Regions from separate parts of the Homo sapiens genome. Here region 2 is linked to region 1. Evidence: promoter capture Hi-C in human tissues and cell types (Jung and others, 2019). All regions are on one chromosome and are shown on one strand. Each heading gives the region's core, a stretch centred on a gene start or on the middle of the fragment in contact. The rest is flanking DNA. Distances are from core to core; before and after follow the strand shown.

Region 1 (7,960 bases), core at 1,008-3,507:
CTATGCTCTACTTTTTCTGAATTAGACAGTAACTCAAGAAAGTCTCCCACAAAGCTCCTAGCCCTCTCCCCTCTATGTGCTTTCTCTGGGAGAGCTCATCCACACTCTTGGCTTTCCCTACCACTCAAACTTAATATCCCCCGAATTTATCTCCAACTGAGACTACTCTGTGCCTGGACGTTTCACAGATGCCGCAGATCTTCCATATCTAAAGCCAGACTCATCACCTTACTCTTTAAACCTGCTTCGCATCCTCCAGGGTTCCTCTACTCCGAGAAAAGACACCTAATCCACCCATCAACTCAAACCAGGAACTTGCCTCTTTTTCCCTCCCTGTCTACAGCCAACCAATCTCCAAGGCCCTATTCCACCCCTTCTTTTCCATGCCTGTTGCCACTGTCCTACTTCAGGCCTCATCAGTTTCTAGACAAAAACAGCGTTCTCATCAGTCTTTCCCTCTCCAGGTTATGCTTCATACTGATTATTTCCTGAACTTTCTAGCCAGCAAATCCCATCCTATTTCTCACCCTAGAACCTGCCCACGAATTTTTACCAGCCACTGCAGTGTTTCACAGTTTGCCTTTGAGAAATATCTGTTCTGCTGGGTCTTAAGGGACACTATCCATAGAAAGCTAATGAGAAACAAAAGCAAACAGGTTTTTTAGTGGTTCTTATTCTTACCCAAGCCTTTAATATGTTCATGAGTGTTAAGACTTTTCAGTGGGAGCAGAACAAGAGTTTTTCTTACATAAGGTAACTGGAGAAGCTTCTTCACTGAACATCTAACAGAACTAGTTAGCATGAATTTTGGCAAACACTGGCCTAAATGATAAAATCAAAGGCACATAAGGGCTTCCATGTCTTATGCTTTTCAAGGGGGCTTCCCACACCCCAGCTTCATTCTCTACCACTCCTCCACCCCCCACGCACACACGCCCATACTCCAATACTGAGCTCCCTGCTACTTTCCAAATATAACACATTATACCCTCATGCCACAGAACTTGAGTGTTGCTCTCTCTGCTTCCCCCACCTAGTTAACTCCTTCTCACTAAGACCCAGCCCAATTCACCACCTCCACTAAGAAGCTGTCTCCCCATCCTGTTACCCCATGCACCCTGAGCTCCTCTTTATCAGAAAATCTATCAATGTTGTAACTATTTACGTGTGTGGATCCTCAATGGATAGTATACTTTCTTGAGAGAGATGACTCTGCCTAATGTCATCTCCAAAGCTAGAAATTGAATGAAGATTTTTTTAAAAACCATACTATGCAACAGGCCCTCTACTGGGCCTCTTGTTCTTGTATATCCCTCAAGACGAGCCTACAGTGTAGATCTTTGCTGTCCAAACAGCCACAGGTGGTTACTGAGCACTTGAAATATGGCTAGGCCAAATCGAAATGTGCTAAAACTGTAAAATACCAGATTTTGAAAACTTAATACTAAAAAATGTAAAATATCTCAATGTTTTATACTGACTACATGTTGAAATATTTCATACACACCGAGTTTACTAACATTGATTTCATCTGCTTTTTGCTTTATTAAAGTGGCTACTAAAAAATTTTAAATTATATGTGACTAGCATAATATTTCTACTGTACAGCGCTCTGGTGGATACTTTTATACGCATTTTAGAAACTAGGAAACTGAGTCTCAGGGAGGTAAACTGCCTTGTCCAGAGTAATCCCACGAGTCAGTGGTACAGCCCGTAAAGCACTGGAATCCAGGATTCTGATTCTAAAAGCTGAATTCATTCCACCTCACCTTTAGGTACCAATCCACAACTGCTCGAGAGGAAATGCAGGCTCTGCGGGATGGGGCTCCTCCTCTCCACACCCCCACACAGGCGGGTCGCGGCGCCTCACATTCACTCACCATTGCGCATGAAGTAATCCTCCACTGCACCCCCCAGCCACTTGGCCTTCTCCTGGCTGTGCACACCCCCGAAGCCATTCTCCACAGCGATCTGTAAACACAGGTCCAAGCCCACCAAGTCAGCTTGGGAGCAGACCTGGAGTAGCCTGGAGGCCGCTTACGCCGCCCAGCCAACTCCTCTTATGCCGCCTAGCCAAGCCTCAGGCACCTAGCCCAACCAACTCCTGTTCTGCCCCGGGCCCTAACCTTGACCTTGCCCTGGCCCTGGCCCCACTGACCTGCAAGGCCGGCCAGGCCTCCAGGGCCGCGCAGACCCCAGCCCGGAAAAGAGCTCGCGCATCTTCTGCAGCGCCCGCCATTATCCGGCCCCAGTCCACGTGACGTCCCGGCGGCCCAATCCCTCTGTAGCTCGGCCCAGGCAGAACGAGACGCAAGCCGAGCCTGAGAACACAGGATTCTCTTTTCCGCAGACCTGGCAGCAAGACTAGAGCAAAAGAAAAATCTGTCAGAGCGATCGATGACACCACCAGAGTTACTCACTTAAATCAAAGGACACCAGACCTGAAGGACGTGTGGGGCCATGGTTTCCGGATCCGTGGGTACTGCGGAGGAAATATGTGGGGAACTTATTACAGATACAGATTCCAGGCCCTGGGGCAGAGGACTCAGTGAGTATAGCCTTAAAAATCTGCATTTAAAAAAAGCATCCTAACATCTGTATAGAATACTGCAACCAACAACAGTAAAATACAATCAGCTCTCCCTATGGGGGGCAGTCCACGTCCGTGAATTCAACTAACCTCAGATGGAAAATATTCAGGAAAAAATTGCATCTGCATTGAACATGTGTATACTTTTTTTCTTGACATTATTCTCCTAAACAGTACAGTATAACAGCTATATACATAGCATTTACACTTTATTAGGCATTATAAGTAACCTGGAAATTATTTATTTATCTATTTTTTTGAGACCGAGTGTCACTCTGTGGCCCAGGCTGGAGTGCAGTGGCGCCATCTCGGCTGACTGCAACCTCCGTCTCCTGGTTTCAAGCAATTCTCGTGCCTCAGCCTCCCGAGTACCTGAGATTACAGGTGCCCACCACCACTCCCAGCTAATTTTTGTGTTTTTAGTAGAGACAGGGTTTCGCCATGTTGCCCAGGCTGGTCTCGAACTCCTGGGTTTAATCCACTTGCCTCAGCCTCCCAAATTGCTGGGATTATAGGCGTGAGTCACATCTGGAAATGATTTAAAGTATACAGTAGAATATTCATAGGTTATACGCAAATACTATGCCATTTTATATCAGGGACTTGAGCATCTATGAATTTTGGTATCCTCCGGAGGTCGTGGAACCAGTCTCCCACGGATACCCAGGGATAACTGTACATGTTTTTCTGAAGTACACAAGAACATTCTCCAGAACAGATCATACACTAGGCCATACAGTAGGCCTCCATAGATTTAACAGGATTGAACATACAAAGTATGTTGTCTGACCACAATGGAAAGAAGTTAAAAATCAGTAAAAAGAAACTTACAAAATTCACAAATATATGGAAATTAACACACTCCTAAGCAATAAATGGGTCAAAGAAAAAAATCACAAAGCAAATTAGAAAACACTTTTAAATGAATGAAAACAAAAACATAAAAAAATGCATGAGATGCAGCTAAAGCAAAACTTAGAGGGAAATCTTTAGCTGTAAACATGCATATCTAAAAAGAAGAGCCGGACATGGTGGCTCATGCCTGTAATCATAGCACTTTGGGAGGTTGATGCGGGAGGATGGCTTGAGCTCAGGAGTTCAAGACCAGCCTGGGCAACATAGTGAGACCCCATCTCTAAAAACAATTTTAAAAATTAGGCCAGGTGTGGTGGCTCACGCTTGTAATCACAGCACTTTGGGAGGCCAAGGCAGGCAGATCACTTGAGGTCAGGAGTTCGAGACCAGCCTGGCCAAGATGGTGAAACCCCGTCTCTACTAAAAATACAAAAATTAGCCAGGTCTGGTGGCAAGCACCTGTAATCCCAGCTACTTGGGAGGCTGAGGCAGGAGAATGGCTTGAACCCGGGAGGCGGAGGTTACAGTGAGCCGAGATGGTGCCATTGCACTCCAGCCTGGGAAACAGAGTGAGACTCTGTCTCAAACTAAATAAATAAATAAATTTGAAAACTAGGCCAGGCATGGTGGCTCACACCTATAATTCCCGCACTTTGGGTGGGCAGATCACCTGAGGTCAGGAGTTTGAGACCAGCATGGTCAATATGAACAAACCCTGTCTCTACTAAAAATGCAAAAGTTAGCCAGGCATGGTGACACACACCTGTAATCCCAGCTACTTGGGAGGCTGAAGCACGAGAATCGCTTGAACCCGGTAGGCAGAGGTTGCAGTGAGCTGAGATCACTCCACTGCACTCCAGCCTGGGCGACACAGTGAGACTCTGTCTCAAACAAACAAACGAACAAACAAAATTAGATGGGCATAGTGGCATATGCGTGTAGTACCAGCCACTCAGGAGGCTGAGGTGGGAGGATTGCTTGAGCCTGGGAGCTCAAGGCTGCAGTGAGCCGTGATTGTGCCACTGCACTCCAGCATGGGGGACAGAGCAAGACCCTGTCTCAAAAAAATAAAAAATGAAAGAATGATATCAAATTAATAACCTACACTTCCACTTCACAAAACCAGAAAAAGAAGAGCAAAGTAATCCCAAGGCAAGCATAAGAAAGGAAATAATAAATAATAGAACAGAAATAAATGAAATAGAGAATTGAAAAACAATAGAGAAAAGAAAAAACAGTGAAGCCAAAAGTCAGTTGTTGTTTTTTGTTTGTTTGTTTGTTTGTTTTGAGATGGAGTCTGGTGCTGTCACCCAGGCTGAAGTGCAGTGGTGCAATCTCAGCTCACTACAACCTCTGCCTCCCAGGTTCAAAGGAGTCTCCTGCCTCAGCCTCCAGAGTAGCTGGGATTACAGGCATATGCCACCATGCCCCGTTAATTTTTGTATTTTTAGTAGAGACAGGGTTTCACCATGTTGGCCAGGCTGGTCTTGAACTCCTGACCTCAAGTGAGCTGCCCACCTCAGCCTTCCCAAGTGTTTGGATTACAGGCGTGAGCCACCGGACCTGGGCGGTTATTTTTTTTTCAGAGATGAAGTCTTTTTTTGTTGCCCAGGCTGGAATGCAGTGGCACAAACATTGCTCACTGCAGCCTCAAACTCCTGGGCTCAAAGGATCCTCCTGCCTCTGCCTCCTGATTAGCTGGGACTACAGGAATAGGCCACCATGCCTGGCTAGTGTGTGTGTGTGTGTGTGTGTGTGGTTGTGTGTGTGTGTGTGTGTGTGTGTGTGTGTGTGTGTGTGTGTGTTGGGAGGGGGTGTCTCACTTTGTTGCCCAGGCTGGTCTTGAACTCCTGGTTTCAAGCGATCCACCTGCCTCGCCTCTCAAAATGCTGGGATTACAGGTGTGAGCAAATGCAACTGGCCAAGTCAGTTATTTGAAAAGATCAACAAAATTTACAAACCCTTAGCTAGACTGAGGAAGAAATAAAAGAAAGAAGACTCAAATTACTGAAATCAGGAACGAAAGAGGACGTATAATTACCGACCAGTCAAAAAAGACCACATATTGTATGATACCATTTATATGAAATATACAGAATAGGTAAATCTATAGAGACAGAAAATACATGAATGGTTGCCCAGGGCTTGGATGGGGAAAGAATAGAGTGTGACTTCTAAATGGCTTCAGGGCTACTTTTGGGGGTGTCGAAAATGTTCTAAAAATTAGACGAGGTAATGGTTGCTGTTATGAGCTAAATTGTATCCACCACCCCCCAAATTCATATGTAGAAACCCTAACCCCCAGTACCTCAGAATGTGACTGTATTGGGAGATAGAGCCTTTAAAAAGGTAATTAAGATAAAATGAGGTTGCATGGGTGGGCCCTAATCCGTTATGACTGATGTCCTTATAAAGAAGGGGAGATTAGAACTCGGTGCAATGGCTCAGATCACTTGAGGCCAGGAGTTCGAGACCATCCTGGGCAACAAAGCAAGACCCCCCATCTCTACAAAAAAATTTTTTTTTTAATTAGCTGAGTGTGATGGCTGTAGTCCCAGCTACTCAGGAGACTGAGGAGGGAGGATCACTTGAGTCCAGGAGGTTGAGGCTGCCGTGAGCCATGATTGTACCACTGCACTCCAGCATGAGTGACAGAACAAGCCCTGTCTCAAAAACAAAAAACAACAAAATATAATAATAAGAGGAGATGAGGACACAGGCAAAGAGGGACACCAGAGAGGTGTACACACAGGGACAACTATGTGAACACACAGTGAGAAAGCTAAGGAGAAAGCCAAGGAGCAAATCAGAAGAAACTATACTAAAAGCCATTGAATTGTACACTTTACTTATTTGTTGATTTATTGATGAAAGTATTTCCTTAAAATTAGAAATCTAATTTACAAATTACAAATTTTTAAAAACTGACAAATGTCACAAACATCTTCTAACCCAGAAAAATAAAATATTACTTTGTTGTTTTGTTTTTGTTTTGTAGATGCAAGGTTTCACCATGTTGGCCAGGCTGGTCTCAAACTCCTGACCTCAGGTGAGCCGCCTGCCTCAGCATCCCAAAGTGCTGGGATTACAGGCATGAGCCACCACGCCCTGCCAAAATAAAATATTCTTATTAATTACATGACTCACCTCTCTACTAATTTTTCTACATTTTTTGATATCAAAGAGTTTATAGAACTCTTCATATGACAAGTATTTTATATTTTCTAGAGAGAACACAAAGAATTCAATTGATTTCAATTCAGTTGAGTAAAATTTTTTATTATTAGTATTTTAGAAAAGTTTCAATTTCACAACTCATTATTAGTAATGTACATTTTAAGATTTTTGTCAAACTTGGGAAAATTTCTAGTTTCTTTTACATGTGAGCTGTAAGATTTCAGGTTATTTTAACTTCTCTTGGCACAGCGACAAATCTTAAACATTCTTCAAATAGACCAGGCTCAATAACCAGAGACCTGGAAGTGGCCTGTGCAAGTGTGGGGCCCTGATGCTTAAGATTGATTTGTTCTACGATAAATCTATCTCTGTGCAATGCCCAGGGAGAAAGGAGCACAGGGACTCATGGGAGTTCAGCAGAGGGTCCCTGACCCAGCCCTGGGGGCTGTGGCAGGCCTCTCGGAGGAGATGACACGTGAGCTGATTCTTAAAGTTTGAGTAGAATTTTGCTGGGTGATGGGGGAGTGTGTGTGTATGGGGGTGGAAGGTGTTACTGAAAGGAGGAAAGAGCCTTCTGTGCAGGGGAAAAATGTGTGCAAATACACAGAGGCAGGAAGCAACATGGTGTGTGATGATAATAAGAGCAGTTCCAGACTGAGAGAGAACCTCAGGGGCATAGCCTCCTCCGTAGCTCCAGAGACTCATTTTTTGTAGAGTCAGCAATGTAGATTGAGTTCAGAGAGGCCCAAATGAAGATATTGAAAACCTCAGTTGAAGTTCCCACAATCTGAGGCCTCAAACATACACAGAGAGAATAGACCTGCTAGATATCCCCACACATGGAGTCCCTCTCTGGGATGTAACAAACCAAGGCCTCTGAATGAACCCTTAGCTTTGAGACTGAAGTCCAAGGCCGAGTATCCTAAGTACCAAACGTCTTCACCTTTTTTGTGACTTGAACCCCCATCGGCAATCTGGTAAAGTCAATATAGCTCTTCACAGAATGTTTTTATTTTATTTTAAAATTTCTGAGGCAGGATAATCGCTTGAACTCAGGAGGTGGAGGTTTCAGTGAGCCGAGATCGTGCCACTGCACTCCAGCCTGGGCGACAGAGCCAGATTCCATCTCAAAAAAAACAAAAAAACTTATTTTGCAGAGACCAGGTTCTCACTATGTTGCTCAGGCTGGTCTCAAACTCCCGGGCTCAAGTAATCTTCCCTCAGCCTCCGAAAGTGCTGGGAATACAGGCATGAGCCTAGCCCAGAATAATGTTTTTAAATGCATACAATAAAATATAGGTTTACAAAGGAAGTCAAGTATGTTAAAATACAGTTATC
Region 2 (7,960 bases), core at 5,461-7,960, 190 kb after region 1:
TTCACCTGAACCCCTGGCCCCCACTGCTGGGCCAAGAGGTGGAGAGTGCTTCCCTAGGCCTGCTCCCCCAGGTGTGCTCTACAGGCTATACTCTACTTACTGGTGGGGCTCCTACCAGCGGCACTGGGGAAGGACAGGGCCTACTTAAGTCCTCTTCTGTTGCTGGGTTGGGGATCAGGAGATACTGTGCTTGGGCTGCCTTTGCCTCTGGACTGGGAATTGGGAGACACTGCCTGTACTGCCTTTATTCACTGGGTGGATAATTGGAAGATACCAAGCTGCTATGATGTTACTCAAGTCCTAGGGGTCCCCAGCCAGTCCGCTTTCATCTTTTCACTCTTCTGTGCCCTCCTGTCATTGTCTACTACATTATTTCTAGAACTTTTAGCTGTACTTAGAGGGGAGGAGCAGGGAGAGTTGAGTTTCTGCCATCTTGTCCCAAACCCTAAACTGATGTGTTAAGTAACTTTGGAATGTGAATGATATAGCCCATTGGCTAAAATTATATTCCTTTTATCCTCTGATTACTTGTTACTGCCATTTCTCTGTGTATTTAAAAAACTCTTAAGGGCAGTATTAATGTATCTTCTTCCACTACTTATATTTATGTCATACGTCATATGGACATAAAAAATTTAGGAGTTATTTTTATCTCTTGTACATCTATATATAGATGCTTCATGAGTAGTTTTTAGGAGAAATAACTTGCTTAAATTAACTTGAAAGATATCTATTTCAAAAAGATGTCTGAGACTTAGAGCTTGTCATTTAAATTCCAAACGTGTTTATTGAAATTTTTGTATTTGTTGAAATATGTTTGAGTTTAAAGAAAAACCTGAAAAATGCCTTTGACGCAGATAAACTAAAAGGTAGCCTCCCCTTTCATAATAATATTGATGTAGACCTGTAAAATGTAACTAATTAGAATTAATAATGTTGAGCTATTTTTACATCATTCATTTTCATATCTTGTTCTGCCTCCTGCAGAACACTATTCTTGTCTCCCATACCTGGTCTACCCTGTTGAGTTCATTACATAAACAAGTATATTTTGAGTGATAATTTGTTTTGGTTTTAGAAGTTTTGTTTGAAGATATTAATAAAGTAACCAAACAAACAAGATAAAACTGATCAAGAGCACCCTATAATAAAAGGCTCCACAGAGGTCTATCACTGGCAATATTTTTCTTTCATTCTCATCACTGTGAGATGGTTTGCTAAATGCTAAATAAATACAGTGTGACCTTGATTTTTCAGCTTTTTAAGAAAGCTTTATTGAAATATAATTCACATACCATATAATTCACTCATTTAAAGTGTGTAATTTAATGGCTTTTAGTATATTCACAGAGTTGTGCAGTCATAACTTTTAAAAAGATTGTAGTATTAATTTTTCTTAAATTCATTATTTATAGTTTTATAATTGGGAGTTTTTCTTAGAATTTTACTGTCAAGACTGGAATGAGTTACTTTTTTAAAAATATTACTAGCTTGAATCAAGATGTGGCAACTACGAAGGAAAACGTCAGTAGCCCTGATAACCCAAGTGGAAATGGCAAACAGGATCGGATCAAACAGAGAAGAGCTTCCTGTCCCCGACCAGAGAAGGGGACTAAATTTCAGCTTACCGTCCTTCAGGTCAGTTTGTAAATATGGTTTGGTTAAGAGTACATATAGAGGTCTGGAGGGTCAGAGAGGGGCAGTGCTGCAGAAGTGAGTTGTAGAATATTGCGAGACCCTCTCTAAACTAACCTTTTCTCCGTTACAGACTTTCCAATGTGAGTATTATGTGTTCGTTGTTAAACTTAGGAAATATAAGAAAGAAAATAAAATCTACTTTTAACCACCATTCAGAGATAGCTCCTATTAATGTTTTAGTTTGTTTTTCTCTCCTTTTCCTGTATGTACATGTAGTGTTTTACATTATTGAGGTTGTAATAGTACTAGTAATCGCAGCAAAAATCTATTGAGTTCTTTTGTGGTAGGCACCCTAAATGTTATCCATGCATTTTACCATTTAATCCTTCAATAACCCTGTATGATAGGTCATAGTATATACTCATCTTTACAAATGAAGATACTAAAGATCAGAGGAGTGAGCCGGGCGCAGTGGCTCACGCCTGTAATCCCAACACTTTGGAAGGCCGAGGCAGGTGGATCATCTGAGGTCAGGAGTTCGAGACCAGCCTGACCAATATGATAAAACCCCGTCTCTATTAAAAATACAAAAATTAGCCAGGCATGGTGGTGCATGCCTGTAATCCCAACTACTCGGGAGGCTGAGACAGGAGAATCGCTTGAACCCAGGAGGCGGAGGTTGCGGTGAACTGAGATCACACCATTGCACTCCAACCTGGGCAACAAGAACAAAACTCCATCTGAAAAAAAAATGAAATCAGAGGAGCGAAGTAAGTTGCCTAAGATCACTCAACTAGCAAGTGATAATGTCAGATCTGAACCTAGATCGGACTTTAAAGCCCGTATCTCTAACCAATATAATGTATGTTTTAGTTGGCTGCTTAAACCTATATATAATTTTATATCCTGCATTTTTAAAAACCTAATATATCATGTATGCCTTCCTGTATCATTAATTTTTCAATAACATGACATTTTAAATGGCTACATTAGATAGCTGCTTATACAGAGAAATAACTTACATTCCCTATGTTCTTGGTTTATGTTCTTTCTTTCCATCTTTTTCCCAGTCTGTCTTTTTTCTAACTTGCTGTCTTTTACTCTTTTTGTCTGTCTGTATATCTTTGCAGCAAAATCCTTGAACATAAATCTTTGTATCTATCCCTGATTATTTCCTTATTAGATCCATAGGAGACGGATTCATGGATCAGAATATGAAGATTTTTAAAGTTTCTAGATACATGTTGCTAGATTGCTGTCCATAAAGATTGGTCCAGGTTACATTTCCATTTGCAGTGCCTCTTCTTTTGCTTAGAGTCAATTTATAGATTAAGATAATTTTGGAAATGAATTATTAAATTTAAATCTTTGCATTGCAGATAGCTCTAGTGACTATTATAACTTTTTTTGCTTTCTTATAAAAGTTGTATTGTTTTCTTTACCACAGGATCACATTTATAACTTATTTTTTACTGAGTAACTTGAACCTGTTAGTTTAGTCATAGAATGGCTGTTTAGATGGTATTCCACCAAGGGAAAACATTCTGAACTATTTAAGCCATTTTCCACATATATTGTACGTGAACTAGTGTAGATGTTCCTTGCACAATTTGCAAAAAGAAGACAGTGATTGACTCTTAAACCGGTAAAATGTTTGTACTCAGGTATCAACCTCTGGAGATAACATGGTAGAGTGTCAGCTGGAGACACACAACAACAAGATGGTCACCTTCAAGTTTGATGTTGATGGTGATGCGCCAGAGGATATTGCAGACTATATGGTAAGTGCAGTAAGACCAAATTATCTTCCCTTCAGCATTCTGTCTTTTTTCCCCTATAATTCTGTCTCCATTTATTTTGAGCCATTGTTTTTTAGAGTACGATTAGTTTTAAAATTTTGTACAGAGGTAAATTGGGTTATCATCAAGTGTAAGTCACTGCATCTCCTCCGGTTTCAGTATATTTAACTGGAAAATATGCAGAGGTTTCATTTAGAGATAATATAGCTAAATGGCTCTTATCTCTGATTGCATGTGAAAATCACCTGACAAGCTTTTTAAAAACAATTGTATTGCCTGGTCCCTTGATTAAATCAGAATATTTGGAGGTGAGGCCCAAGCATCAATAGTTTGTAAAGCTCCCCAGGTAATTCTTTTTTTTTTAGTTTATTTTTTGCTGGGCACAGTGGCTCATGCCTGTAATCCCCGCACTTTGGGAGGCCTAGGCAGGAGGATCACTTGAGCCCAGGAGTTCAAGACCAGCCTAGGCAATGTAGTGAGTGAGACCTTGTCTTCACAAAAAATTAAAAAATGCCAGATGTGGTGGCCACACTTGTAATCCCAGCACTTTGGGAGGCTGAGGGAGGAGGATTGCTTGAGCCCAGGAGATTGAGGCTGTAGTGAGCTATGATCATGCCACTGCATTCCAGCCTGGGCAGCAGAGCAAGACCCTGTCTCAAAAAAAAGTTACCTTTTATTATTTTTATTTTTTATAACAGGCTTTGAAAAAGCTAAAGCCCCAGGTAATTCTTTTTCTTTCTGTTTTTTTTTTTTTAATTTTTGTGGCTACATAGAAAGTTTATATATTTATGAGGTACATGAGATATTTCGATGTAGGTATACAATGTGTAAGAATGATGTAAAGGTAAATGGGGTATCCCTCCCCTTGTAATTCTAATGTGTTAGTCACTGATCTAACATCTTGCATGTTATTGTTTCATTTAGTTTTTAATATTTTCTTTGAATTGTTAGGTTTAAGTTAGTATTTCTTCCCCCCTTATTTTATTATTTTTTTTTATTATTTTCTAGGTTACTTTTCCATCTTCCCCTTTTTTGATGGGGATGGGACTAGGATGGCAGGAAGAGTGCATATAATGCTTTTTGTTTCTGCCAGCTTTCTTTGTGTATGCATTTCTAGCCAAGCAGAATTAAACATTTTAAAAGTTAATTATTTCATCATCAGTTCTGTTCTTGTTTAACGTAATATTTTCTGAACTGTCTCTTCTTTCATTCTTTTCAGGAATGTTTAACCTAATTAGTGGTCTTCCGAGCTATTTTTTTTTTTTTTTTTTGAGACAGAGTCTCGCTCTATTGCCCAGGCTGGAGGGCAGTGGTGTGATCTTGGCTCACTGCAACCTCCGCCTCCTGGGATCAAGTGATTATCCTGTCTCAGCCTCCCAAGTAGCTGGGATTACAGGCGCACGCCACCACACCCAGCTAATTTTTGTATTTTTAACAGAGATGGCATTTCGCCATGTTGACCAGGCTGGTCTCGAACTCCTGACCTCAGGTGATTCACCCACTTCAGCCTCCCAAAGTGCTGGGCTACCGTGCCCAGCCTTCCGAGCTATTCTTTATTTTCTTTGGAGATGTTTCATTTTGTGGTTTGTGATTTAAAAGCTTTTGGGTTTGGACATCTTAGTTTTAAACATTGCCTCAGTTATGTTCTTCAAATAACCAATTTATAGAATGACATATTTTTTAAAATGCTGGTTCCTTCTCTGGTAGGTAGTGCCAATCTGAGAAATGTCAGTAGTCTCAGAATAATTTAATGTATTTTTTGGCATTTTATTGCTGGTCTTTGTGAATTCTATTGTGACACTTGGATTTAGATACTTAATTTTAATTTTATTCTTCTTTTTCTTTTTCTTTTCTTTTCTTTTTTTTTTTTTTTTTGAGACAGAGTTTTGCTCTTGTTGCCCAGGCTGTAGTGCAATGGTGCAATCTCAGCTCACCATAACCTCCGCCTCCTGGGCTCAAGCAATTCTCCTGCCTCAGCCTCCCAAGTAGCTGGGATTACAGGCACCCGCCATCATACCCAGTTAATTTTGTATTTTTAGTAGAGACAGGGTTTCACCATGTTGGTCAGGCTGGTCTCAAATTCCTGACCTCAGGTGATCCACCCACCTCAGCCTCCCAAAGTGCTGGGATTACAGGCATGAGCCACTGTGCCTGGCCCAATTTTCTTTCTTTATGTGATAGTCACTATTTATATAATATTATAACTTTGAAGAAACTGAATTCATTCTCATGAATAGACTTACTTTTGGGCAGGTTGAAGATAACTTTGTGCTGGAAAGTGAGAAAGAAAAATTTGTAGAAGAATTGAGAGCTATTGTAGGTCAAGCCCAGGAGATCCTTCATGTCCACTTTGCCACAGAAAGAGCCACTGGAGTTGATTCTATTACTGTGGACTCCAACAGTAGCCAGGTGAGAACAATTGTTTAGCAAACAGATCTTCTCAGATATGAATCAGGAACTTTTTAATTTATCTATTCATTTTTAATTCAGACAGGGTCATCTGAACAAGTACAGATAAATTCTACATCTACTCAAACCAGCAGTAAGTATATTTAGTAAAATTTATCATTTGGTTTTTGAAGCAAGACATTTGAAAACTTTTAACACACCTTCATTGGGAAAGATGTTAGCCAATAAATTAATTTGGTAACTTATTAGTGTAGGTTTTCTCACACTTTGAAAGGCCCAAAGGTAATAATCCATCCCCTGACTTTTCCCCAAGTGTTGGTTCTTTATCTGATTGATTTATTTTTGAGTTATTGGGTGGTCATGTTACCAGAAAAGCAGTCACAGTACTGATGACCTTAAATGGCATAACTGTTTGAAACTTAACTGGTAAGTTATTTTTTTCTGATTTGAGATGGATAGAAACTTTTTAACAAAAGTCATCATTTTCTAAGTTTGCCTCATATTTCAATAGTCATTCGTATCTTGATTTTATTCTACTAACGATGAATGATATGCTTCTACTTGCGCTGGTCACTGATAACTTTTAGTAAATCAGATACCAGATAAACTTCCAGAAGCGAAAACTAGGGTCTCCTGTTTTCTTTTCTGATGACTTTATCTTTCCATTCTTCTCAGTTCTGGTCATGGGTATATTAAAGAGTGTCTGGGAGGGGGATAAGAGCCATAGACAAATGAGCACCCCTGAAGAAATTACAGGAACGTAAAGAAGCAAAAGGTGGTGTGGGAGTAATAGAACCAGATACCATTATCCTGAAATTTAGTTTGACTGTGTTAGGATGCAGTCCTTCCTATATCTTATTTTTCTGGTTAGCCAAGATATGAGTAGGTTTCTGACTAACAAAGTTGGGTAGAGTTTAAAAGAGAATTACTTATTTGAGTACATTTACAAAGTAGCAGTTAAGATGTAGGGGTTTATTTTACTTTATTTTAAAAAATGTCATACAGTAAAACTGATTTTCTTTTGGTGTACACTTCTGTAAATTTTAATACATGTATAGATTTATATAAGCACTATCATAATCAGGATACAGAATAAGAGATATAGGTTTTAATGAGAAAAGTGCTGTCAGTTTTTTCAAAGAGTACCCTGTTTCTAATTGCTATTCAAGCAATATTTGTTTCAGTAGAATCTAAAATCCTTCTCTAAAGATATTGTGTGCTTAGTACTTTAGACTTTTTGTCAGTATTAAAAGGGCTGGTCTTATCAATTACATATATTCTAGTACTATTAGAAATGGAGATATAAGACAAATTGTTTATTTAACCTGGCTTCTTCAGTCAATAAGGTAAATAAATTGAAAATAGCTTAGCATATTATTTTTTGCTAATTATTTCTGCAGATGAATCTGCTCCTCAGTCATCCCCAGTTGGTCGGTGGCGATTCTGTATCAATCAGACGATAAGAAACCGTGAGACTCAGTCTCCTCCTTCTCTTCAGCATTCCATGTCTGCGGTTCCTGGCCGACATCCACTTCCTAGTAAGCTTTTCTTCTCTGCCAGCTTTGTCCAGACTCAAAGGATGGGATGCAAAATACATATGATATCTTTAACTGGTTTCCATGGGAATTTTATGCTTATGAGAATTTTCATAAGCTTTTTTGAAGACATTAATATTAGGATACAACTTAAGCCATTTCCTATTTAATATTTATGAGAAAAAAGGAAAACATTATTTCCCTTGACAGGTTGAATTCTGTGTTTTGAGTCTTATTTACGAGAGTACTTTCACACAGGTTCTCATTTGCCCCTTTGTCCTCCTGTTCCTTTTGACTTAGGGTACTAGTCTGTGCTTTGTACTCGTCAGTACGTGCTTAGCCATTCTTTATTATTGTTCCAGGTCCAAAAAACACAAGTAATAAGGAAATATCACGGGACACATTGCTCACTATAGAAAATAATCCATGCCACCGTGCACTTTTCACCTCCAAATCAGAACACAAGGATGTGGTTGATGGTAAGATTTCTGAATGTGCTAGTGTAGAAACCAAGCAGCCAGCTATACTTTATCAAGTGGAAGATAACAGGCAGATAATGGCACCAGTTACTAATAGTTC

What was found. Contacts are between HindIII fragments. The study calls those that stand out against the background at their distance.
Region 2: a fragment that was not itself captured here is called in contact with the fragment with the promoter of TSR2 in region 1 in 1 of the 25 tissues and cell types used here (adrenal gland).

Annotation. Positions count from the first base shown.
Region 1 is chrX:54,434,701-54,442,660 of GRCh38, reverse strand. TSR2 (TSR2 ribosome maturation factor) reads right to left here and starts at 2,257. Exons shown (of 5, transcript NM_058163.3): 1 at 2,159-2,257; 2 at 1,881-1,971. The coding sequence starts at 2,239. RefSeq lists an enhancer at 2,490-2,539. The HindIII fragment of the contact is 32,321 bases long and covers 1-7,960 here.
Region 2 is chrX:54,249,418-54,257,377 of GRCh38, reverse strand. It overlaps WNK3 (WNK lysine deficient protein kinase 3), which reads left to right. Exons shown (of 24, transcript NM_020922.5): 12 at 1,491-1,638; 13 at 3,303-3,419; 14 at 5,691-5,846; 15 at 5,928-5,979; 16 at 7,247-7,384; 17 at 7,744-7,960. Among named protein-coding and RNA genes, the nearest start is that of FAM120C, 70 kb to the right of the region's middle. The HindIII fragment of the contact is 4,694 bases long and covers 4,364-7,960 here.